7 separate regions of the Homo sapiens genome follow, and all the other regions are linked to region 1. The links are contacts of gene promoters, found by promoter capture Hi-C in blood cells and fetal thymus (Javierre and others, 2016). All regions are on one chromosome and are shown on one strand. Each heading gives the region's core, a stretch centred on a gene start or on the middle of the fragment in contact. The rest is flanking DNA. Distances are from core to core; before and after follow the strand shown.

Evidence for each region. Contacts are between HindIII fragments. The CHiCAGO score rates a contact against its expected background, and 5 or more counts as called.
Region 2: a contact is called between a fragment that was not itself captured here and the fragment with the promoter of SANBR in region 1, in 1 of 17 cell types (M0 macrophages). The highest score is 5.1, in M0 macrophages.
Region 3: a contact is called between a fragment that was not itself captured here and the fragment with the promoter of SANBR in region 1, in 1 of 17 cell types (M2 macrophages). The highest score is 5.9, in M2 macrophages.
Region 4: a contact is called between a fragment that was not itself captured here and the fragment with the promoter of SANBR in region 1, in 1 of 17 cell types (activated CD4 T cells). The highest score is 5.4, in activated CD4 T cells.
Region 5: a contact is called between a fragment that was not itself captured here and the fragment with the promoter of SANBR in region 1, in 2 of 17 cell types (monocytes and M2 macrophages). The highest score is 6.5, in monocytes.
Region 6: a contact is called between a fragment that was not itself captured here and the fragment with the promoter of SANBR in region 1, in 1 of 17 cell types (M2 macrophages). The highest score is 6.3, in M2 macrophages.
Region 7: a contact is called between a fragment that was not itself captured here and the fragment with the promoter of SANBR in region 1, in 1 of 17 cell types (M2 macrophages). The highest score is 6.0, in M2 macrophages.

Annotation. Positions count from the first base shown.
Region 1 is chr2:61,064,333-61,067,821 of GRCh38, forward strand. It overlaps SANBR (SANT and BTB domain regulator of CSR), which reads left to right and starts at 1,539. Exons shown (of 22, transcript NM_001129993.3): 1 at 1,539-1,695. RefSeq lists silencers at 1,319-1,688, 1,719-2,068, 2,079-2,138 and enhancers at 1,428-1,929, 1,930-2,429. The HindIII fragment of the contact is 4,406 bases long and covers 1-2,968 here.
Region 2 is chr2:61,499,694-61,503,182 of GRCh38, forward strand. XPO1 (exportin 1) reads right to left here. Exons shown (of 25, transcript NM_003400.4): 5 at 2,556-2,617; 6 at 2,303-2,347; 7 at 20-201. Among named protein-coding and RNA genes, the nearest start is that of USP34-DT, 30 kb to the left of the region's middle. The HindIII fragment of the contact is 803 bases long and covers 1,493-2,295 here.
Region 3 is chr2:61,461,209-61,464,697 of GRCh38, forward strand. All of the region lies in intron 1 of USP34 (ubiquitin specific peptidase 34), which reads right to left. Among named protein-coding and RNA genes, the nearest start is that of USP34, 8.1 kb to the right of the region's middle. RefSeq lists an enhancer at 2,985-3,204. The HindIII fragment of the contact is 4,536 bases long and covers 1-3,489 here.
Region 4 is chr2:60,694,511-60,697,999 of GRCh38, forward strand. No RefSeq gene overlaps it. Among named protein-coding and RNA genes, the nearest start is that of PAPOLG, 60 kb to the right of the region's middle. The HindIII fragment of the contact is 1,444 bases long and covers 945-2,388 here.
Region 5 is chr2:60,712,144-60,715,632 of GRCh38, forward strand. No RefSeq gene overlaps it. Among named protein-coding and RNA genes, the nearest start is that of PAPOLG, 42 kb to the right of the region's middle. The HindIII fragment of the contact is 6,738 bases long and covers 1-3,489 here.
Region 6 is chr2:61,419,821-61,423,309 of GRCh38, forward strand. It overlaps USP34 (ubiquitin specific peptidase 34), which reads right to left. Exons shown (of 80, transcript NM_014709.4): 2 at 926-1,013. Among named protein-coding and RNA genes, the nearest start is that of SNORA70B, 4.2 kb to the left of the region's middle. The HindIII fragment of the contact is 741 bases long and covers 1,569-2,309 here.
Region 7 is chr2:61,390,468-61,393,956 of GRCh38, forward strand. All of the region lies in intron 5 of USP34 (ubiquitin specific peptidase 34), which reads right to left. Among named protein-coding and RNA genes, the nearest start is that of SNORA70B, 25 kb to the right of the region's middle. The HindIII fragment of the contact is 940 bases long and covers 1,294-2,233 here.

The DNA.
Region 1 (3,489 bases), core at 289-2,788:
GAGGTTGCAGTGAGCCAAGATCGCGCCATTGCACTCCAGCCTGGGTGACAAGACCGAAACTCTGTCTCCAAAAAAAAAATAATAATAATTTACCTGGCTGGGCATGGTGGCTCACGCCTGTAATCCCAGCACTTTGGGAGGCCGAGGCGGGCAGATCACCTGAGGTCAGGAGTTCAAGACCAACATGGTGAAACCCCATCTCTACTAAAAATACAAAAAATTAGCTGGACATGGTGGCATGCGCCTGTAAATCCCAGTTACTCAGGAGGCTGTGGTAGGAGAATCGCTTGAAGGGAGGTGGAGGTTGCAGTGAGCCCAGACGGTGCCACTGCACTCCAGCCTGGGCAACAGAGCAAGACTCCATCTCAAAAAAATAAAAAAAGAATTTACCTGACTTAACCTAACATCTTATGATACGACACTTGCCTAACTTTATTTTTATTTTTATTTTTGACAGGGTCTCACTCTGTTGCCCAGCTTGGAGTGCAGTGGTGCAAACATAGCTCATTGGGGCCACCACGCCCAGCTAACTTAAAAAAAAAACAACTTTTTTTTTTTTTTGGTAGAGACAGGGTTTCACTTTGTTGTTCAGGCTGTGCTCAAGCAATCCTCTCGTCTTGGTCTCCCTAAATGCTGGGATTATGGGATTACAGGTGTGAGCCACCGCACCCAGCCACTTTAATGTCTTTGTGGAACAAAAATCGTAAAAGATCTGCAGAAAGTCACAGGATGATACAATTGGTAAAAACTCCTGACATTCTGTACAGTGAACCACTTAATCTCTACTTAATCATCAGATCTCGTAGTAATTATTCATTTGGTTAAGGCTTTACTTTTTCTGTTCTTTCTAATCCTAACATTTAATTTTGGTTCTCAGAATAGACCAAGTGGAAATTAGATAGAAATGTTGACATGTAGCAGTTACCCTACAATATTGAGCCGTTTGCATTTTACTAGATGCCCAATAGTAGTGTTCCTCACAATAACACACACACACACACACACACACACACACACACACCCTATTAATGTATGAAAACCGAATTTGTAATCCAGAGCTATTTACATTTTTAAAGAGCTACCTCCTGGTAAAGACACTTCAGGTCCTTACCCAAAGACCTTGGTCTAAAAGATACTTTCGGTGTCCCTCATCATGCGATCTTTCCGCTCTACCTAAGCGGTGTACCAAATGATCTGCACCAAGAACAATTTCATCCATTCTTTAATCTTTTATCTCCTGTATATCCCCCTTTCTTCTGGACTCAGGGTTGGTCACCTAAGATCAGGCTCCTAGGATCTGGTTGCTAAGAGACAAGACGCTGGGAGGGTGGGGACGCTGCACTGCGACAAGCCTGGGAGTGTATGCCAGAGGAGGAAGGAGAAGCAGCAGGCAAGGCAAGGCGACAGTCAGCCGCCGCCGCCCCTCCGGTGCCCTCCCGCCCGGCAGGGGCTCGGCGCTCATTGGCTCCGCCGCTGCGGCGCTGGCCCGCGATTGGCCGGGCGGCGTCGGCTCGGCGGCTCCCCCACCCCTCGGCGCTAGTCTCCGCAGCCGCCTGCAAGCGGGCGGGGGCGGGGTGTGAGGCGCTGCGGACGGGGTTGCGGGCTCGGTAGCGGCAGCTTCAGGGCGCGAGCGCGGGCGGTGCCGACCACTGCAGGTAACAGAGGCGCTGCGAGGGCAGCCGCGGCCCTGTGGAGGTGAGCGAGACGCCGAGGGGGCTCGGGTGCCCACCGCGGGGCGGGAAGTGCGGCATGGGGCGGTACCGCTCACAGCCAGCCGGCTCCCGCCGCGGCTTCCCACCCCGGGCGGGGTCCCACTTGCCCAAACGCCCCCGAACGCCCCCGTGCACAGCCTCAGCCGGCCGCGCCTCGAGCAGCCAGCTGGCCCGCGTCCCGTCACCCGCCCGGTCCATGTCCCTGCAGACCGTCCCGCCCGCGCACAGCGGCGGGAACCCCAGCTTCTGCGCGCCCGGCCGCGCCCCGGGCCTCTGCCCCGCCTCGCTCCCGCTGCCCGGCGCCTTTGTCCGCTCTGCGCCCCTGGAGTTTCTGTGCCTCCACGGGCGGGAGCGGGGCGCGAAGGTCTGGGGGTGCCCCGAGGACGCGCCGCGTAGTGAGCCTCCGGGCCCAAGGTTTGACTGGCTTTGACCTCATGCCGGTTCTGGGATGTGATTTTACTTTCTCCTCCAGCTGACTCCGATCTCCTGTGTGTGCAGAAGTCAGGAAGCCTGGGTACAAGGCTTCTTCCCGGTCCGGGATGACTCGGTGTTACCGCCGCCCTCTGTTAGGCCAGAGGCCTTTGACCTGCCTGCCTGCCTGCCCCACGGGGCCCCCTCTCTTCCCATCTTTCCACTGGCTAAGGGAAAACGTCTCTGTCTCCAAGAGCTTTTTTTTCTATTTGAAATAAGAAAAAAATATATCAGATTCCTGTTGTAGACCTCTATCTGGTGTGGAAGTGACTTAGACTAGTCTTCTTAATTAATACATGTATATTAAATACATAAACCAAGAGAAGGGGGTCGGGGAGGGGAGGGGAAGTATGTTCTTAAAAAATGAAGTCTGTTAAACATATTGGATTTTTATTTTTGGTAAATAACGTATTTTACCTTAAATATTGTCAAGATTTTGATATTTTATGAATGGGAGTGGATTTCATAGTAATTTGAACTTTGAGCTTTTTCTTGTCACCGTTTTTGATAAATTTATACTTTCCTGAATGAGGTGCACTATAACAGCTATTTCGAGATAATTTATGTTTTATTAAGGATTATCCATCAATGCTATGCCTTTTATACTTAAATTCAGACTCTGATTTCTTGGACATTCATTTAACTAGAATTAATGCTGGGGGGTCTTCCCTTGCCTAGTACAGTTGTATAAAGAGAAAGTCAACAGAAAAACTTTTTTCTCATTTGGATGATTTAAAGTACTCTTAAACATGTATAGCATAAATTAGTATCACATTTGAAATGTAAGCTTTTAAGTGTTTGACGTGGGTAATATTTTTGAACTTTTAAATGAATCTTTTTGGAAGTGAAGAGAAATGAGCTCTCAGGGAAGATCCTTGCCCTGAATTCCATTTTAGATTGCTTTCTACCAAGGCCCAAACAAATTATAATAAAACGCCCTGGCCGGGTGCAGTGGCTCACGCCTGTAATCCCAGCACTTTGGGAGGCCGAGACGGGCGGATCACGAGGTCAGGAGATCGAGACTATCCTGGCCAACATGGTGAAACCCTGTCTCTACTAAAAATACAAAAATTAGCTGGGCGTGGTGGTGCGTGCCTGTAGTCCCAGCTACTCGGGAGGCTGAGGCAGGAGAATCGCTTGAACCCGGGAGGCGGAGGTTGCAGTGAGCCGAGATCGCGCCACTGCACTCTGGCCTGATGAGAGAGGGAGCGCCACTCCGTCTTAACAACAACAACAACAACAACGCACTATGTGCTCTAACATGCTTCCCAAATTGTGTGGTATGAAAAGTGATGCAAGTACTAGG
Region 2 (3,489 bases), core at 644-3,143, 440 kb after region 1:
AAACATAATTATTACTTGCCTGTCTTTTAAATGCTTAGATTTGACTTGGGTTATCTGTCCACTAGAGAAATCAAATACTTCTTCACTCAAGAGTTTAAGAATCACCATATTATTTTGACAGAGACTTTCGCTGGTCCTACTTGCTCCAACAATATCACTGATAAAAGTTGGCCAATGTTTGGGCCATTCTTGTTTCAGTATCTAAAACAAGACATGAAATGTTAATCGCACTTCATTTCTCAAAGGCAAATAAAACAAACTTCAAAGAAATTATGTAATGGATAAAGGCAGGAGTAAGGATAAATCACTTTTCATTTTCTCCTCCTTTATTAAAGGAAGAAATGTGCCACCCTCTTCACCCTACTGGGTAGAAAACAAAACACAAAGTCTTTTATCTTAATCACCGCAGGACCCTTTTCAATTATCCTAATGAAAGGTCCAATCCGTCTAATGGGTCTGTCTGTGTATTAGTATCTGCCTGATAGATATGTAGAAATTATTCTAGGAGGCCTTGCGCGGTTGCTCATGCCTGTAATCCCAGCACTTTGTGGGGAGCCAGGGTGGGCAGATCACTTGAGGCCAGGAGTCTGAGAACAGCCTGGCCAGGCTGGGCGTGGTAGCTCGTGCCTGTAATCCCAGCACTTTGGGAGGCCGAGGTAGGAGGATCACGAGGTCAGGAGTTCAAGACCAGCCTGGCCAACATGGTGAAACCCTGTCTCTACTAAAAATACAAAAATTAGCGAGGCATGGTGACGTGTGCCTGTGATCCCAGCTGCTCGGGAGGCTGAGGCAGGAGAATCTCTTGAACCTGGGAGGCAGAGGTTGCAGTGAGCCGAGACCAGGCCACTGCACTCAAGGCTGGGCAACAGGATGAGACTCCATCTCAAAAAAAAAAAAAAAAAAAAGAGCAGCCTGGCCAACATGGTGAAACCCCGTCTCTACTAAAAATACAAAAATTAGCCAGGGGTGGTGGCGCGGGCCAGTAGTCTCAGCTACTGGGGAGGCCAAGGCAGGAGAATTGCTTGAACCTGGGAGGTGGAGGTTTCAGTGAACTAAGACGGTGCCACTGCACTCCAGCATGGGCGACAGAGCGACACTCCATTTCAAACAAGAAAAGAAGAAATTATCCTAGGAGACTCAAGGATTTAATTAACCATTGGTGATAAAAAGTGACCGGTTAAGACAGCTTATTATTGGATGCAATTTGAGCCTTGAAATGTAGTAGGGTTTGGATATATGAATTTAAAAGAGAGGACGCACTGCAATCGGGGCCTGAATAAACTTTTAACCAAAAGCCTCATGAACTGCATTATATTTGTATGCAAGTCTGGACTATTTATGGCACACACAAGGGATTTTTCAGATTATAAAAATACATGTTAACCTTCTTTATATTCTCTCCTCTCTCTCACCACTCAGAGAAGGGCTAACAGAAAGCTCTAAAGTATAATAAAAGCTGGAGTTAATTACTGAATACACTAAAATTTTTGGAAGCTTGGATGTTTCTAAGTCTTATTTAAATAGAAATTACTGTTTTTTCCCCCACACATACCAGGGTTCTCTGGAAAAAATTTTATGATATTACTATAGAAAACAGATAAACATAAAAATTATAAATTTAGTCTACATAGACAGTTTAAGGACTAAGCATGGAAATCAATTAGAAGGACGAGGAAATCAAAGGACTCAGAGACATACATGCAAAGGAAATATGCACAGGCATATCAGAAAATTAAAAAACAATCCGGCCAGGTGCAGCGGCTCACACCTATAATCCCAGCACTTTGGGAGGTCGAGGTGGGTGGATCACCTGAGGTCAAGAGTTTGAGACCAGCCTGGCCAACATGGTGAAACCCTGTCTCTACTAAAAATACAAAAAATTAGCCAAACGTGGTGGTAAGCACCCGTAATTCCAGCCACTCAGGAGGCTGAGGCAGAACAATCGCTTGAACCCGGGTAGCAGAGGCTGCAGTGAGCCGAGATCATGCCACTGCACTCCAGCCTGGGCAACAGAGGGAGACTGTCTCCAAAAAAAAAAAAAAAAGAAAAGAAAAGATAAATAAGAATCCAACAGAGTCCAGTCCACACTGCAGCCACATAAATGATGGCTTTAACGTTATTTGATGATTACTGCCACAGCAAATTAACATTCAAGTACTAGACAGTAGGTTACCTATTATTATAAGAATACTATCACTACTTCTGCAAAATATTAGTATACTTTATTTCCTAAGTAGGTCGAACATTTTGTTCAAATAATAAGCATAATTCTTCTAAGGAAAACAGTTAAGTTAAAGCTTACCTGAACAAGGATCATATTTAATTTTCCGATATACACCTTTTCTTTCTAAGGAAAAGTAAAAGATTAAATGAGAGCCTGAGGTAAGTATAAATAAGAATATAACCAGACAATCCTAACAAATGATTACAGCTCTACTGTAAATGACTGACTGTGCATATGTGTGACTATGTGTCTTGACAGAATTAGGTTGTAGTCAGACTCAATATCTAAATGATTTTATGCTCTCCCAATAAGCTCCAAAATAAACTCTTACCTCTACACAAGTTGGGTCAGATGACGTCTTGATAATGAGGCCAACAACGTATTTTTTTATTCCTATTAAAAAAATTGCACGTAATAAAAAAATTGTTGAGCTCTTTTGTAGCATGCAAATAAATTTTGAGAACTAATTAATGTGGGAATGGAAAGACTAAGTAAAATCAGTTAATATACTCTAATCCTGTCACCAGTATTGGCATTTTAAAAAAATTCCGGCCCGGTGCGGTGGCTCACGCTTGTAATCCCAGCAATTCTTTGGGAGGCTGAGGTGGGTGGATCACCTGAGGCCAGGAATTCGAGACCAGCATGACCAACATGGTGAAACCCTGTCTCTACTAAAAATACAAAAATTAACTGGGCGTGGTGGCGGGTGCCTGTAATCCCAGCTACTCGGGAGGCTGAGGCAGGGGAATCACTTGAATCCGGGAGGTGGAGGTTGCAGTGAGCAGACATCACGTCATTGCACTCCAGCCTGGGCAACAGAGCAAGACTTAAAAAAAAAAAATCAATGAATTTAATGTGCTATTCATATTTTTAAAGATGGGATCTGGCATTGTTGCCCAGGTTGGTCTTAAACTCATAGACTCAAGTGATCCTCCTGCCTGGGCCTCCCAAAGTGCTGGAATTACAGGAACAAGCCAACAAGCCCAGCCTATAACAAACTGCTATTCCAGTTTCTTTCATCCTGATTTGGTTCCATGTGTTTCTTTTCTTTTTTTTTTTTTTTTTTGAGACGGAGTCCTGTTATGTCACACACACTGGAGTGCAGTGGCACAATCTTGGCTCCCTGCAACCTCTGCCTCCCAGGTTCAAGTGATTCTCCTGCCTCAGGCTCCCGAGTACAGGCATCAACCACCATGCCTGGCTAATTTTTGTATTTTCAATAAGAGACAAGGTTTCACCATGTTGGCCAGGCTGATCTTGAACTC
Region 3 (3,489 bases), core at 312-2,811, 400 kb after region 1:
GATGAAACCCTGTCTCTACTAAAAATGCAAAAGAATTAGCCAGGCATGGTGGCAGGCCCCTGTAATCCCAGCTACTCGGGAGTCTGAGGCAGGAGAATCACTTGAACCTGGGAGGCAGAGGTTGCAGTGAGCCGAGATGGCACCATTGCACTCCACCCTAGTGAACAAGAGCGAAATTCCGCCTCAAAAAAATAAAAAAAAAAACCCAAAACACTGAAATCTGAAATACAGAAAAAAAAACATACAATTCATTAAATAACAAAAATATGAATGGTTAAATTTACTAGTAATTGCTTAATACATTCTCTACCAAAATAACTTTTATTTTAAGAGATGAAGTCTTGCTATGTTGCCCAGGCTAGCCTTGAATTCCAGGGCTCAAGTGATCCTCCCACCTCAGCCTCCTGAGTAGCTGGGAATACTACAGGCACACATCACCATGCCCTGCTAAAATAACACTTTCTAAAGGATAATATTCAAGACAGGTGAAAGTGCCCTTACACAGGCACGACTACGACTAAAAGATCAATATATCCTTTCTGGCAAGCAAACAGTATGAAAATAATGAAAAATGTTTATATTTTTTGACACAGTAAACTCACGTCTAGAAATCTAAAAGAACCAGGGATGTAGATAAAAGATTTAAGTAGAAAGATGTACATTTGCGGCATTATTCATAATATGGGAGAACTGGAAACAGATATATTAAATTTTATATAAAATGAAATCTTATACAAAAACATGTTTTCAGCCAGACGCGGTGGCTCACACCTGTAGTCACAGCATTTTAGGGGGCCGAGGTGGGCAGATCATGAGGTCAGGAGTTCAAGACCAGCCTGGCCAACATGGTGAAACCTCATCTCTACTAAACGTAACAAAAATTAGTCAGGCATGGTGGCAGTTGCCTGTAATCACAGCTACCCAGGAGGTTGAGGCAGGAAAATCGCTTGAACCCGGGAGGCGGAGGTTGCAGTGAGCCAAGATCAGGCCATCGCACTCCAGCCTGGGGCAACAGAACAAGACTCCATCTCAGGGGGAAAAAAAAAAAAAAGAAAATCAGCCAGGCGTGGTGGCTCATGCCTGTAATCCCAGCAGTTTGGGAGGCCGAGGTGGGTGAATCACTTGAGGCTAGGAGTTTGAGAACAGCCTGGGCAAAACAGTGAAGCCCCATTCCTACAAAAAACACAAATATTAGCTGGGCATGGTGGTACGCACCTGTAATCCCAGCTACTTGGGAAGCTGAGGCAGGAGAATTGCTTGAACCCAGGAAGAGGAGGTTGAAGTGAGCCAAGATCATGCCACTGCACTCCAGCCTGGGCCACAGAGTAAGACTCCGTCTCCAAAAAAAAAAAAAAAATCAATTCAGGAGAACCGGACAAAGTAGCTCACACCCTGTAATCCCAGCACTCTGGGAGGCTGAGGCAAGCGGATCACTTGAGGCCAGGAGTTTGAGACCAGCCTGACCAACATGGCGAAACCCCATCTCTACTAAATATACAAAAATTAGCCCGGCATGATGGCACATGCCTATAATCCCAGCTACTTGGGAGGGTGAGGCACAAGAACTGCTTGAGCCCCCCAAGGCAGAGGGTGCAGTGAGCCGAGACTGTACCAATGCACTCCAGCCTGGGAGACAGAGGGAAACTGTTTCCCAAAAAAAAAAAAAAAAAGGCAGCCAGGTGTGCTGGTATACACACCTATAGTCCCTGCTACTCAGGAGGGTGAGACAGGAAAATCACTTGAGCCCAGGAGGTCAAGTTATAGTAAGCAATAATCACTTCATTGCACTCCAGCCTGGATGACAGAATAAGACTCCATCTCCAAAGGGGGGAAAAAAATTCCAACTTTAGATTAAATGTCTACTGAAAAAGTTATGTTACTAATTGATTTCGTACCTATATACTCATAGTATCTAAAAAGCTCTGGAAACATGTAGTTTTATTAAACGGTTCACTGCAGAATAACAGTATTAAGAAAGATTCTCAGCCGGGTACAGCATACCCCAACACTTTGGGAGGCTGAGGCAGGAGCATCACTTGAGCCCAGGAGCTTGAGGCTGCAGTGAGCTATAATTGGGCCACTGCACCCCAGCATGGGTGATACACTGTCTCTTAAAAAATAATCAAAAATCAAAAAATTTGAAATTTTATTCAATGAAAAAGATTCTTATTCAGCTATACTTATTACCACTTTTGAATTCCTACTACAATTATCACAGAAATTTGTCTGAATTTTTGAAGATACATAAAACACGGTCAGTAATTTTCACTTTGCCAACTGAACAGTGGTGATTCAGATAGATCATCATAAAATTTATACAATGTTAACTAGTAAGAACTTTTAGGCCAGGCAGGATGGCTCACACCCCTAAACCCAACACTTTGGGAGGCCAAGGGAGGCGGATTACCTGGGGTCAGGAATTCAAGACCATCCTGGCCAACATGGTGAAACCCCACATCGACTAAAATTACAAAAATTAGCCAGGCATGGTGGTGCATGCCTGTAATCCCAGCTACTCAGGAGGCTGAGGCAGGAGAATCGCTTGAACCCAGGAGGCGGAGGTTGCAATGAGCCGAGATCATGCCATTGCACACCAGCCTGGGCAACAGGAACAAAATTCCTTTTCAAAAAAAAAAAAAACTCTTAGCCTAATCTGGGATTAAGTCCTGTGGTTCCACCAAACAGTCACATGTGACCCTAAGCAAGTCACATAAATTCTCTAAACCTTAGTTCCCTCATCTGAAAAGGATGACAGAGTACCTCCCTCAAAGAACTGATTAAATCAGCAGCATGCAAAGCATGTAAAGTACTTAAGTACCCAACACAAACTATTCAATAAAGTAATCTGCTTTAAAAATAAAACACACTGAAAGGCCGAGGCAGGTGGATCACCTGACATCATTAGTTCAAGACCAGTGTGGCCAAACTGGTGAAAATTAGTCTCGACTAAAAATACAAACATTAGCTGGGCGTGGTGGCAGGCGCCTCTAATTCCAGCTACTCAGGAGGATGAGGCAGGAGAATCACTTGAAGCAAGGAGGTGGAAGTTGCAGTGAGCTGAGATCGTGCCATTGCACTGCAGCCTGGGCAACAGAGTGAGACTCCGTCTCAAAAACACCACCACCAACAAAATAAACACAACAGAATTATTCTGCAAATACAGATATTGGAGTAGCTGAGTTCCATCTCAAATTTGACTATGCAGGTTGACAGGTGATCTTGGCAAACTACTTATCCTTTCTGAAGTTCAACTTTTTCACCAAATGGTATTGGGATACAACACTTGCTCTTGCCTATCTCACATGAATTATCCATTTTGGACAACTTGGTAAACTATAACCCACCAAACGAATACACAGAGTAAAATCTACAACACATAAGTGGTTTAAAACAATGACGTACACCAGGCGTGGTGGCTCACGCCTGTAGTCCCAGGAGGCGGAGGTTGCAGTGAGCCCAAGATCGCACCACTGCACTCCAGCCTGGGCG
Region 4 (3,489 bases), core at 417-2,916, 370 kb before region 1:
GTCCAGGCCTGGAAGAGGCACACATCACGAGTTCACATCCCACTGGCCAGAACTCAGCTGCTTGGGAAGCTGAGGTGGGAGGATCACATGGCCACACCTAGCTGCAAAGAAAGCTGGCAAATCTCAGCCGGGCACGGTGGCTCACGCCTGTAATTCCAGCACTTTGAAATGCTAGATAACTAATCAGAGGTTAGGTAAAATGGACCACCAACAAGTGAAGACTTTCCCTAAAACGCCTCTCAAATTCATCTATCATTACGTACCCTTGTGCCTATTTTATTTTATTTTGTTTTGTGTTACGGTCTCATTCTGTTGCCCAAGCTGGAGTGCAGTGGCATGATCTCGGCTCACTGCAACCTCTGCCTCACGGGTTCAAGTGATTCTCCTGCCTCAGCCTCCCTAGTAGCTGGGATTACTGGTGTGCACCACCACACCCAGCTAATTTTGGTATTTTTGGTACAGATGGGGTTTCACCATGTAGAGCAGGCTGGTCTGGAACTCCTGACCTCAAGTGATCTGCCTGCCTCGGCCTCCCAAAGTGCTGGGATTACAGGCATGAGCCATGGTGCCTGGCCCTTTATGCCTTTTTTAACTTTACAGATTAAAAAACCACAAGTATGGCTGGGCTTGGTGGCTCACTTCTATAATCCCAGCACTTTGCAAGGGCGGCAGATTGCCTGAGTCCAGGAGTTCGAGACCAGCCTGGGCAACATGGTGAAACCCCGTCTCTGCAAAAAATACAAAAATTACCCGCCTGTAGTACCAGCTGCTCGGGAGGCTGAGGTGGGAGGATCACTTGAGCCTGGGAAGTCAAGGCTGCAGTGAGCCGTGATCATGCCACTGTACTCCAACATGGCTGACAGAACGAGGCCCTGTCTCAAAATAAATAAATTAATAAATAAATAAATGGAAAATGCAAAGCCACAAGTAATATGACACTTTGAAGCTTTCACTGATTACTCCCATAGAGAGGTATCAGCTAAGGTCCGGAAGATTTAACCAAGCACAGCCTCCCCAGCTATCAACACTTTTGAGAAGTGTTTTGATACTTTTTGATAACGTTTGTGGGCAAACATTATCTTATGATAGATAACATCACAATCTCAAGGAGCAAGAAATGGGGCTATTATTTTAGCCCCTTTTCTGTTTAACCTGTACTTTAATAGACAGATACGACTTTTAGGTCACCTGAATGCATGTCTATATGTCACACTAGATAAAGAGGGGATGATAATGGGGCTTCTGTATCAAAACTAGGAATAACCCCAAAAAGCAATTGGTCTAAACGTCTATGACCAGAAGAAAACGCATTTCCCGTAATGAAGTAAGATGATAGTTAAGATATGTTAAGGCATGGCTTTTAAAACATATTAGCAGCATATGATGACTTTTAAAAAGAAAAAACCCATTCCTTAAAGACCTAGCACGAAATATACATAAAGTGACTTAATACTTGCCAAAAACATCTCTTGCAACTATGCCCAAAATATGTACATATTTAAGTAAAGGCCAACAGGCAACATTCAAAAACAAAAAGAGTAACTGCTATGCTCAGGCAACATAATTATGAGTGGCTTATTTTCTCCTTTCAACATTTTCTCTAATATTTTTACATCTTATTGTTAACCATTTGTTTCTAATTTATTGCAAAAGAACAAAGAAAAAGAAGAATCCTTTCTTGTTCTTAACACAGCTATAAGAAGCCTTCCACTCTTCAGTAGGAGACAGTCACTATTTTCATCAAGATTGGCAGAATAAGTAGTTCTAAAGTGAAATGTAGAATTTTTCAAAATTATAGTCCCCTGATCAAGACTGGGGGAAATTAATTTTTTAAAGCATGAGAAAAGAACACTTTCCTAGAGGATACACAAGCACTGGTCAGTCTTTTCCTAACACTGAGGATGCCCAAAGGCTGTTACTCTGACCAGCACTTTCATTATTAAGAAGCTGAGAGGTGAGGCTACTCTTTGACTTAGAGAATATTTTATTGGCAGAAGCTCCAAAGAGATCCTTTCTTTAAATATTCACTGTGTTCAGCGTACCCTATTACCTCAGGGATTTACTGAGAAATCCAAGAAAGTCTGTTTTGCATCCTTAGGCAAAGGTTAGCTATTTCAGGGGGTTGGTGTATGTGATGTGTTTTCTTATGGACACCATAATTCTGTCCCTGAAAACCCCTTTTTTCTACAAGGCCTTTTAAACTTCCTGAATATCTTTGAGATTCTTAAGCTCATCAATGAGTATCAAAAAGTGCTACCTGTGTCCAAACCCACAATTTCTCACCTTCATTAAAATATCTGCCTTCATTGCCCTATTAGATCCCAGAGAATCTTTGTCTCACTTACTTGGATATCACTTAAAAATCCAAGAAGATATAGGGACATTTGAAGCTTCCCTGAGAAGTTGAGTTAGAAATTCAGGGCTCTCTCCTTTTTTTTTTTTTTGAGACTGAGTCTCACTCTGTCACCCAGGCTGGAGTGCAGTGGCGTGATCTCAGCTCACTGCAGGCGCCCACCACCTCGCCCGGCTAATTTTTTGTATTTTTAGTAGAAATGGGGTTTCATCGCGTTAGCCAGGATGGTCTCAATCTCCTGACCTCGTGATCCACCCGCCTCGGCCTCCCAAAGTGCTGGGATTACAGGCGTGAGCCACCACGCCCGGCCTGCTCTCTCCTTTATTCTTTTTTTTTTTTTAAGACAGAGTCTTGCTCTGTTGCCCAGTCTGGAGTGCAGTGGCATGATCTCTGCTCAGTGCAACCTCCGCCTCCCAGATTCAAGCGACTCTCCTGCCTCAGCCTCCTGAGTAGCTGGGATTACAGGCGTGCACCACTACACCCGGGTAATTTTTGTATTTTTGATAGAGTTAGGGTTTTACCATGTTGGCCAGGCTGGTGAAATCTGCCTGCCCCAGCCTCCCAAAGTGCTAGGATTACAGGCATGAGCAACTGCGCCCGGCCTGAATGTCTTTAATAAATGTAACGCCACTATAAACACCAACTATGTGGCCAGGCTATGTATGCACTTACTTTTGAAAAGAGCTTTCCCAGGAGGGAGCTGTTTTGTTCTCATTGAGTAGAACAGAGTTCTTCCAGGAAGAAGACAGAGTTTAGAGAATGAAAGCTGAAATGTTAAAAAATTTCTACTAAATCGGATAATCTTCAACTAGGAAACAATAAAATATACAAAAGTCATATGCAGATACTTAAGTTATAAAGTGAACCATTAATATTTTGCCAGCTATACCTAATGACATATTTGGATTATCAATTACTTTCCATTCAAATTGTAAATCTTTTTCTAAGAATGAAAGAACTAAAAACATGAGAGAATCTGGCCATCTCTAACAGGAACAGATTATGATACTTAACTCCAAACTTGTGTTAGATAACTTTGATCTACACGGGACACCTGGGATGTAGAATATATTTCATATTTTGTTATTAATGATCATCCAGAGATGTCCTAGAAATTTTTTTCTAGTATCTATGCC
Region 5 (3,489 bases), core at 51-2,550, 350 kb before region 1:
CGATCTCCTCTCCTCGTGATTGGCCCACCTCAGCCTCCCAAAGTGCTGGGATTATAGGCGTGAAAGATTTGTTTTTGTTGCTATTATTATTTTACCTTTTTTTTTTTTTTTGAGACGCAGTTTCGCTCTTGTTGCCCAGGCTAGAGTGCAGTGGCTCGATTTTGGCTCACCGCAACCTCCACCTTCCAGGTTCAAGTGATTCTCCTGCCTCAGCCTCCCGAGTAGCTGGGATTACAGGCATGAGCCACCATGCCCAGCTAATTTTGTATTTTTAGTAGAGATGGGGTTTCTCCATGTTGGTCAGGCTGGTCTTGAACTCCCGACCTCAGGTGATCCACCCACCTTGGCCTCCCAAAGTGCTGGGATTACAGGCATGAGCCACCACGCCTGGCCTTTTTTTTTTTTTTTTTTTTTTTTAACCTTTGCCTAGATGTCAGAGGATGTATGAGAATGCCTGGGCGCTTAGGCAGAAGTTTGCTGCAGGGACAGGGCCCTCATGGAGAACCTCTGCTAGGGTAGCACAGAAGAGAAATGTGGGATCAGAGCCCCCACACAGAGTCCCTACTGGGGGCACCACCTAGTGGAGCTGTGAGAAGAAGGCCACCATCCTTCAGACCCCAGAATGTTAGATCTACTAACAGCTTGCACCGTGCACCTGGAAAAGCCGCAGACACTCAATGCCAGCCAGTGAAAGCCGCCAGGAGAGGGGCTATACCTGCAAAGCCACAGGGGTGGAGCTGTCCAAGGCCGTGGGAGCCCACCTCTTGCATCAGCATGACCTGGATAGGAGACATGGAGTCAAAGGAGATCATTTTGGAATTTTAAGATTTGACTGCCCTGCTGGATTTCAGACTTGCATGGGGCCTGTAGTCCCTCTGTTTTGACTAATTTACTCCATTCAAAATGGCTATATTTACCCAATTCGTGTACCCCCATTGTATCTAGGAAGTAACTAACTTGCTTTTGATTTTACAGCCTCATATGTGGAAGGGACTTGCCTTGTCTCAGATGAGATTTTGGACTGTGGACTTTTGAGTTAATGCTGAAATGAGTTAAGACTTTAGGGACAGCCGGGTGCGGTGGCTCAAGCCTGTAATCCCAGCACTTTGGGAGGCTGAGGCGGGCAGATCACGAGGTTAGGAAATCGAGACCAACCCAGCTAACATAGTGAAACCCCGTCTCTACTAAAAATACAAAAACTTAGCCAGATGTGGTGGTGGGCGCCTGTAGTCCCAGCTACTCAGGAGGCTGAGGCAGGAGAATGGCATGAACCCGGAAGGCAGAGCTTGCAGTGAGCTGAGATTGCGCCACTGCACTCCAGCCTGGGTGACAGAGCGAGACTCCATCTCAAAAAAAAAAAAAGACTTTAGGGGACTGTTGAGAAGGCATGATTGGTTTTGAAATGTGAAGGCAAGAGATTTGAGAGAGGCCAGGGGCAGAATGATATGGTTTGGCTCTCTCTCACACCCATAGCTCCCGTAATTCCCACATGTTGTGACAGGGACCTGGTGGGAGATAACTGAATCATGGGAGCAGGTCTTTCTTGCGCTGTTCTCATGATAGTGAATAAGTCTCATGAGATCTGACGGTTTTAAAAATGGGAGTTTCCCTGCACAAGCTCTCTCTCTCTCTTTGCCTGCTGCCATCCAAGTAAGATGTGACTTGGTCCTCCTTGCCTTCTGCCATGATTGTGAGGCCTCCCCAGCCATGTGGAACTATAAGTCCATTAAACCTCTTTCTTTTGTAAATTGCCCAGTCTCAGGTATGTCTTTATCAGCAGCGTGAAAACAGACTAGTACAGATCAGGAGTTCAAGCCCATTCTGGCCAACGTGGTGAAACCTTTTCTCTCCTAAAAAATACAAAAGTTAGCCAGGCATGGTGGTGCATGCCTGTAATCCCAGCTACTTGGGAGGTTGAGGCATGAGAATCACTTGAACCTAGGAGACAGAAGTTGCAGTGAGCCAAGATTGTATCACTGCACTCCAACCTGGATGACAGAGCAAGGCTCTGCTCAAAAAATAATATTGATAACAAATAATTAACAGATAGTCCCCTTGCCTCTCACAAGTTAGACAGAACTGCCCAGAATGCCCTGCTGAAGAGTTGTAACAGATAACCCTGTTCCTCCTTAACCTCTCTGTGCTTCATTTGCTCACCTGTAAAATAGTGATCATAGTAGTACCTATCTTGTGGCGATGTAGAGAGGATTAAATAAACTAATTAAGAGGGCCAGGCACAGTGGCTCATGCCTATAATCCCAGCACTTTGAGAGGCTGAGGTGGGCAGATCACTTGAAGTCAGGAGTTCGAAACCAGCTTGAACAACATGGTAAAACCCTGTCTCTACTAAAAAAAAAAAAAAAAATTGCCAGGCATTGTGGCAGGTGCCTGTAATCCCAGCTACTCGGTTGGCTGAGGCAGGAGAATCGCTTGCACCCAGGAGGCAGAGGTTGTAGTGAGCTGAGATCGCACCACTGCACTCCAGCCTGGGTGACAAAGCAAGACTCTGTCTCAAAAAAAAAAAAAAAAGAAGCCAATTAAGGTGGAAGCACTTAGAACAGTGTTTGCACATAGTAGGCCTTCAGAAGTGCCCTAGCCTATGGCTTGCAGTTATTAGGGAGATCAGCCTTTCAGCAGGGCATGGAAGAGAAGGCTTTCTACCAATCCCACCCAGAAACCGGAAACAATTTGCCAACAGGGTAGTTTCTCCTCACTATTAAAGACTGATGAAAGGGGGTATATTAGTCTGTTCTCATGCTGCTAATAAAGACATATGTGAGACTGGGTAATGTATAAAGGAAAGAGGCTTAATTGACTAACAGTTCAGGCGGCGCGGAGGCTCATGCCTGTAATCCCAACACTTTTGGAGGCCCAGGCAGGTGGATCACCTGAGGTCAGGAGTTCAAGACCAGCCAGAATAATATGGTGAAACCCTGTCTCTACTAAAAATACAAAAATTAGCCAGGCGTGGTGGCGGGCACCTGTAGTCCTGGCTACTCAGGAGGCTGAGACAGGAAAATTGCTTGAACCCAGGAGGCGGAGGTTGCAGATATCACACCACTGCACTCCAGCCTGGGTGACAGAGCGAGACTCCATCTCAAAATAATAATAATAGGCCGGGCATGGTGGCTCACACCTGTAATCCCAGCACTTTGGGAGGCCGAGGTGGGTGGATCACAAGGTCAGGAGTTTGAGACCAGCCTGGCTAACATGGTGAAACCACGTCTCTACTAAAAAAAAAAAAAAAAATACAAAAATTAGCCAGGTGTGGTGGCGCTTGCCTGTAATCCCAGCTACTCGGGAGGCTGAGGCAGGAGAATCGCCTGAACCCGGGAGGCGGAGTTGCAGTGAGCCAAGATGGCGCCATTGCGCTCCAGCCTGGGCGACAGAGCAAGACTCTGTTTCAAAAAGAAATAATAATAATAATAATAATAATAATAATAATAATCGACTCACAGTTCAGCATGACTGGCAAGGCCTCAGGAAATT
Region 6 (3,489 bases), core at 689-3,188, 360 kb after region 1:
ATCTAGTCCATCCCTAATGCAACAGCAACCACTCCTAAACTTACTGAAATTCAGTGAGACTCAGAAAAGAAATGTCAATAATGATGGTACAGAATGTTTACATAAATAAAATCTACAAAGTCTTTTGCAACAAGTATATCTGCCAACTCTACTGAGAGAGGAAAAAAGGATATTACCATAGAGCAAATGTTATTTGAAGTTAAACTACTCAGCTAAACTCTATGTTCAGCTAGACTGTATACCTCAGAACATTCATTTATGTATCACTGCATTTAACATGTTCATTGGCTACTGCACACAATGCTTCAAACATTCTTACCCATAAAATTTTTTAGAAGGACTAAGTTTAAGTTAAAGTAATTTTTATTTTCATTGGTTTATTCAAGGGAAAAAAATTATTAGCAAAGACTAGTTAAAATCACATTGAGGAACAGGAATCCTTTTTATAAACTTTGATTATATTAACATGTTTTCCTAAAATTTTATTTCCTATAGTCTCAATATATGTATTATTTAGAAATTGGTCTAATACACATAATTATAGAAACGGAACAGATATTAAGTGGCTTAAAAGTATCCCCTACCACAATGACTTTTCTTTTTTAAGGATTAAGATTGTTACAAGCCTTTAGCTATACCATAAAAATTATTTAATCTCTCAAAATAGTTACTTTTCAGAATTTCTGTGACTCTCATATCCCTAAATAAGCAGGGGTCAAAGAAAGAAACTGATATTTATGCCCATGTTTTAAAAACAGAATCATGATCGACCTCATGAGTAAAGATTTAATAAATATTGACAAACTGTCATTTAGTAACTAATGGTATCTAACCCAACACCCTAAAAAGAAAATGTGACAATAAAAATCGCAACTTATAACACAACTCACAAAAATTAGTCTTCGAAATACCTAAAGATGCATACCTCTGTGTCCAGGAATTGATATAAGTAAATATTTTGAGAGTATGTTCCTTTCTGAGCTGCAGTCCATCACCACCTTCTACATCTGATACTGAAATAAAAAAGAAATTTTAAAATTATGAATAATGCTAAACCAGTATTAAAGCCAACAGTTCAAAATAAAGCCAAGAGCTACAAATGCAAACATTTCAGATAATCATTCTTTTGCTTCCAAAGAAAATAAGTCTACTTTTAATTAATAACTCATATGGACTTAAGAACAGATTTTTGACAGATGTAAGGGGTGGGGGGGGCAGTGAGACTTTGCCACTTATTCTGGGATTATCTCTCATCTCCAAAACCAGCCTTCCGTTGTGATGCTGAGGCTGGGACCATGCAATCTACATTTTTCATTTCCAGCTGTCTTCCTGTTAAGATCTTGTTCTCCAGTGCCTATAGGGTACTAGAAGAAGAAGGCAGGAGGAGAGACCAAAGACTTGTCAGCTTGCTATATCTGAAAGCAGCAGCACTGATTCCAGCCTCCAGCTTAGTATTCCAAGAACCAGTCTCATGGTACTCCTCTCAGAGGTATCAGCAGTAGCCACAGAGCATACCTTCCTTGAAGTCACAGCTTCCTTCACACGGCGTTCCTCTTTTGATATGAGGAAGCTTGAGAACATTCAGTTCTCATTAAAAGACCATTTCCCAAAATAATAAAAATTGAACATAACCATTCTTATAATTCCATCATTTTAATGGCTTTTACCTTCTTTGGCTGGTCCACACAGCTTTACAAAGTAGAAAACATAAGGGTCTTTGAAGCCACTAAACCAATTATTATGTATGTACAAGAAAGCATTTTTGAGGCTTATCAGCTTTCTTACTGTTTCTTTATATATTGCTAGTGTCTTCTCTTTAATCCCAAGAAATCTTGCCTGGATCACTGTATCACATTAACGTGAGGAGGGGAAATCCCCTATGAAGCAGTAATATGTCCTACTATACCAGTAAGTTTCCTGTACCAAATATATATGAGGTTAGTTTACATTTAAAACACACACACACACACACACACACGCGCGCGCGCGCACCTTCTACTTAATCAGACTACATACACAATGTTGAGACTTACAGCACACTTCCTCAACTCAGCTCCAGAAATGCTGGTAAGCTGAACTAGGAGGTTGGAAGATTCCTCTCTGGTAATACTGATTAACCAAAAAGGGGTTTAAAAAAAAATTACCTTGGTCAAGGAGAAAAGGAAACGGCGTAAGGCCAAAATACATGTAAAACAGTCACAAGGTAGTAACACCTACACCCAAGACCAGGCTTTTGGGACCTAGATCACATCTGAGGCCCTGGAAGCCGAAGACACTACTGACCATCAGGGAGAAGACCTGGGCAACAAAGCTTAGCAACTAGGACAGAATAAGATATAGTTGGGGCCTAAGATGAAGCAACCACTAAAAACAACCTCTTGCATTGTATGATTTCAACAAGGTGAAGAAGGGATCACAGTACGCCATGCCAGTTTTCCTTCCCCAGCCATAACAGTGCCTAAAAACAGAGGGAAGAGTGGCTACAACCATCATATCCTACTCTAACAAAAAACACACACGGCACACATTCTGAAAAAAAGTTTGTGTGGCCAGAAAACCATCCTCACCAGAGGCCCGCCTGACAGCCTAGCTGCTAACCAACAAAAACTTTCCAACTCATTCCATCCAACCCAGAACCAGAAAGGCAAGTGAAGGACATTTCATCAGAGTAGAGTTCTCCAAACACACAGCTATCATCATACTCAAAGGTGAAAGCCCAAAAGCTTTTCCTCTAAGATTAGGACCAAGATAAGGTGGTCACTTTCACAATTTCTATTCAACACAGTATTAGAAATTCTAGTCAGAGCAATTCAATGAGGAAGAAAATGGAAAGAAATCAAGTCACTTCTGTCCACAGATAACATGAACCAACAGAAAACCCTAAGGATTACACAAGAAGAACTGTTAGAACTAACAGCCGGTAATCCCAGCACTTTGGAAGGCCAAGGCGGGCAGATCACTTGAGCTTAGGAGGTCAAGACCAGCCTGAGCAGCATAGTGAAACCCCATCTCTACGAAAAATATAAACAATTAGCCAGGCATGGTGGTGCACACCTCTGGTCCCAGCTACTGAGGAGGCTGAGGTGGAAGGATCACTCGAACCTGGAAGGTTAAGGCTGAAGTGAGCCGAAAAAAATCAGTGGCTTCCATTAAACTGCAGTTTGCATTTCAGCATTCCAACCTGGGTAACAGAGTGAGACCCCCTCTCAAAAACAAACAAACAAAAAATAAGTGAATTCAACAAAGTTACAGGATACAAATTCAAAACACAAAAATCAGATATACTTTTGTCTTTTTAAATTTTTGGTTTTTTGAGACAGTCTCACTCTTTTGCCCAGGCTGGAGTGCAGTGGCACAATCTTGGCTCACTGCAACCTCTGCCTCCCAGGTTCAAGCGATTCTCCTGCCTCAGCCTCCTGAGTAGCTGGGATTACAGGTGCCCACCATCACGCCTGGCTAGTTTTTGTATTTTGTAGAGAGGGAGTTTCA
Region 7 (3,489 bases), core at 514-3,013, 330 kb after region 1:
ATTTGCAAAGTAAGAAAACTACATAAAGATCTTTGTTGTTTTCTTGTGGGTGCAGCTGTTATTAAAGAACGGATCCATATAATAGGTGGAATAATATTTGTGCAAACTGAGAAATCTCCTAAAACTCAGAGCTAGTTAAGAACTGCTGAAGTTCTAGTTAAGAATCTGCTAAAGTTTTTGAGATTGAAACAAATGTATGGGCTTGACGTTATTATCAGATTTGAACCTTAATCTGATAAGGTAAGAATTTCCTTTCTTTGTTGATAATTCAAATCCAGAGAAGAGTGAGTTTTCCTGAGATGAAATTTCAGGATTCTAGATTCAGGTTCTGAAAAAAAAAACTCACCAGCCAGGCGCAGTGGCTCACACCTGTAATCCCAGCACTCTGGGAGGCTGAGGTGGGGGCATCGCAAGGTCAAGAGATTGAGACCATCCTGGCCAACATGGTGAAACCCCATCTCTACTAAAAATACAAAAATTAGCTGGGCATGGTGGTGCGTGCCTGTAGTCCCAGCTACTCGGGAAGCTAAGGCAGGAGAATCGCTTGAATCTGGGAGGCGGAGGCTGAGGTGAGCAGGGATCATACCACTGCACTCCAGCCTGGTGACAGAGCGAGACTCCAGCTCAAAAAAAAAACGAAAAAATAACACTCACCATCTGACAAAGTTACCTTGCCTCAGTAAGAGTGAGGAAATCAGCCAGGTGCAATGGCACACACCTGTAATCCCAGCACTTTAGGAGGCCAAGGCGGGCGGATCATTTGAGCCCAGGAGTTCAAGACCAGCCTGGGGAACATGGTGAAACACTACCTCTACCAGAAACACAAAAATTAGCCAGTCTCAAAATAAATATATAGCTTTTTCTTTAAGTGAGGAGGAAATCATACTAGAAAATAAACAGAATGGGATCATTTCCTGAGTCCCAGGAAATGCTATAAACATGTTCTCTTCTGAATGTGTGATTTAGTATAATAGAGAAAAAGAAGTATTCAGTAACGTTAGTCCGTATCTTTCCTGCCACAAAAGTGATTTATGAGTTATTTTCTTTTCTTTACAAACGGCTGCCCTAAAATCTAATACTATTTTTTTCATTGTTAAATATAGTTCTACTCATTCCTGTGAAATTCAGAGATTCCCAAATAGAGACCTCACCCTATTGAAGCCAAAACACCATGGCTAAACAAGCTGCCCACTTCGCAAGAAAAGGAATAGACATACAAAAATGATCAGGGTTTATACAATGACCCACTAGAGGAAATTACTATGAAATAAATAAAGCACAGCTTCTGTAGCAAGCTTGATTACAAAAAGAACTCTAAGCTCTTAATGTACACTAAAATATTAACCATATAAAAGAAATTAGCTTGCAGAGAGCCAATCTACAATATTTTTTATAAGGAAAAGATGCCTATTAAAGAGTTACTCCATTGAGTTATTATTCTCAGAAAATTAACAAACAGATTATATAGTATTATAGTATTACGGTGTTCAAAAAATATATTAATTTAAATAGTATAATTTTGCTTTAACGGCCTCAGTTGAGTTGCAAGATAAAGAAAACTATGCAGATTGACAACAGCCCACCAATTAGCAGTCATAAAAGGGCTGAAGAGAAAGATAAAACAGAATCTAAGCCTAAACCTTTGTATTTAGTAAAGGATAACTTCACAGGTTGGGCAACAGCGTAACCCCATCTCTACAAAAACAATTTTTAATTTAGCCAGGCGTGGTGACATGCACCTTTAGTCCCAGGTACTTGGGAGGCTGACATGGGAGGGAGGTTTGCTTGAGCCTGGGAGATCAAGGCTGCAGTCAGCTGCTACTACCGCACAGCAGAACTCTCTCTCAAAAACAAAAACAAAACAAAGGCCGGGTGCGGTGGCTCAAGCCTGCAAGCCTGTAATCCCAGCACTTTGGGAGGCCGAGGTGGGCGGATCACAGGAGGTCAGGAGTTCGAGACCAGCCTGGACAACATGGCGAAACCCCGGGTCTACTAAAAATACAAAAATTAGCTGGGTGTGGTAGCGTGCACTAGTTATCCCAGCTACTAGGGAGGCTGAGGCAGGACAACTGCTTGAACCCAGGAGGTGGATGCTGCAGTGAGCCAAGATGGTGCCACTGCACTCTAGCCTGGGTGACGGAGTGAGACTCTGTCTCAAAAAAACGGATAAAGTAAGGAAGAAAAAACCCTGTAAACGATAACTTTTAAAGATATAGTAATAAAGTCTTTAACAAGCTTTCCATACTAGACTGTTAAACAAGAATTAGTACAAATAAATTCAAGAAACAGTTTAATCCAGGTTTATGTAATATTCCTGATTAAGTAAACCCTTTGATAATTTGGTGTTTCAAAATTATATGCCCTCTCCAAAATTACCACAGTGTGAAATAAAAATGTTATCCCAGCATTCCAGTTAACTAAATTGAGATACTTTCTCTCAGAGAATGCCAAAGTACATAAAACTTTCTATCAAACAAATAAGTTCAATCAGAATAACAGGATCACTTAGGTATTTAGTAACAACCGAAGTTAGTAAAAGCCACCAGTTACTACACACTTTATATGTCAAGTGTTACATTATGAGTTTAAAATCTTTCTCATTTTAAACCTCAAAACAATCCTCTAAAGTAGATGGATATCATCATCATTCCCATTTTGCAAATTAAAAAAATTAAGGCTCAGATCACGCAAAGTGGCTCACGCCTGTAATCCCAGCACTTTAGGAGGCTGAGGCAGGAGGATCACCTGAGGTTAGGAGTTTGAGACCAGCCTAGCCAACATGGTGAAACCCAATCTCTATTAAAAATACAAAAATTAACCAGGCATGGTGGCATACGCCTGTAGTCCCAACTACTCGGGAGGCTGAGGCAGGAGAATCACTTAAATCTGGGAGACGGAGGTTGCAGTGAGCCAAGATCATGCCACTGCACTCCAGCCTGGGCAACAGAGCCAGACTCCGTCTAAAAAAAAAAAAAAAAAGGCAACATTATTAACCTACATGCTACACTACTACTATATGTAATAATTTCAACCTATCAGAATGGGTGGAATTTTTTAACTAAAAATGACCTTGATAGTAATCATTTATTACCAATTTTAGTAATGTCAGTGCTGTTTCCAATGTACCGCATCACTGCAAAGCACACAGCATTGGAAACAATGCAACAAAATATTTGGTTGAGTCACTTTTCACCCAATATTTTTATTTTATAGATAATTTAAATATCTGATATTAGCTATTAATTAAGGTAATTCCATTACACAAGATTTCAGTGTTTGGTAAAGGTACACTGAACTTTTGCTTTACCAATTTTTTAAATTATGACCAGAATAGGTTATTAAAGAATGAATTTTAATATACAGGTATTTAAAAGTATCTTTCTTTCCGGGCCGGGCACAGTCGCTCACGCCTGTAATCTCAGCACTTTGGGAGGCCAAGGTGGGTGGATCATGAGGTCAGGAGTTTGAGACCAGCCTGGCCAACATGTA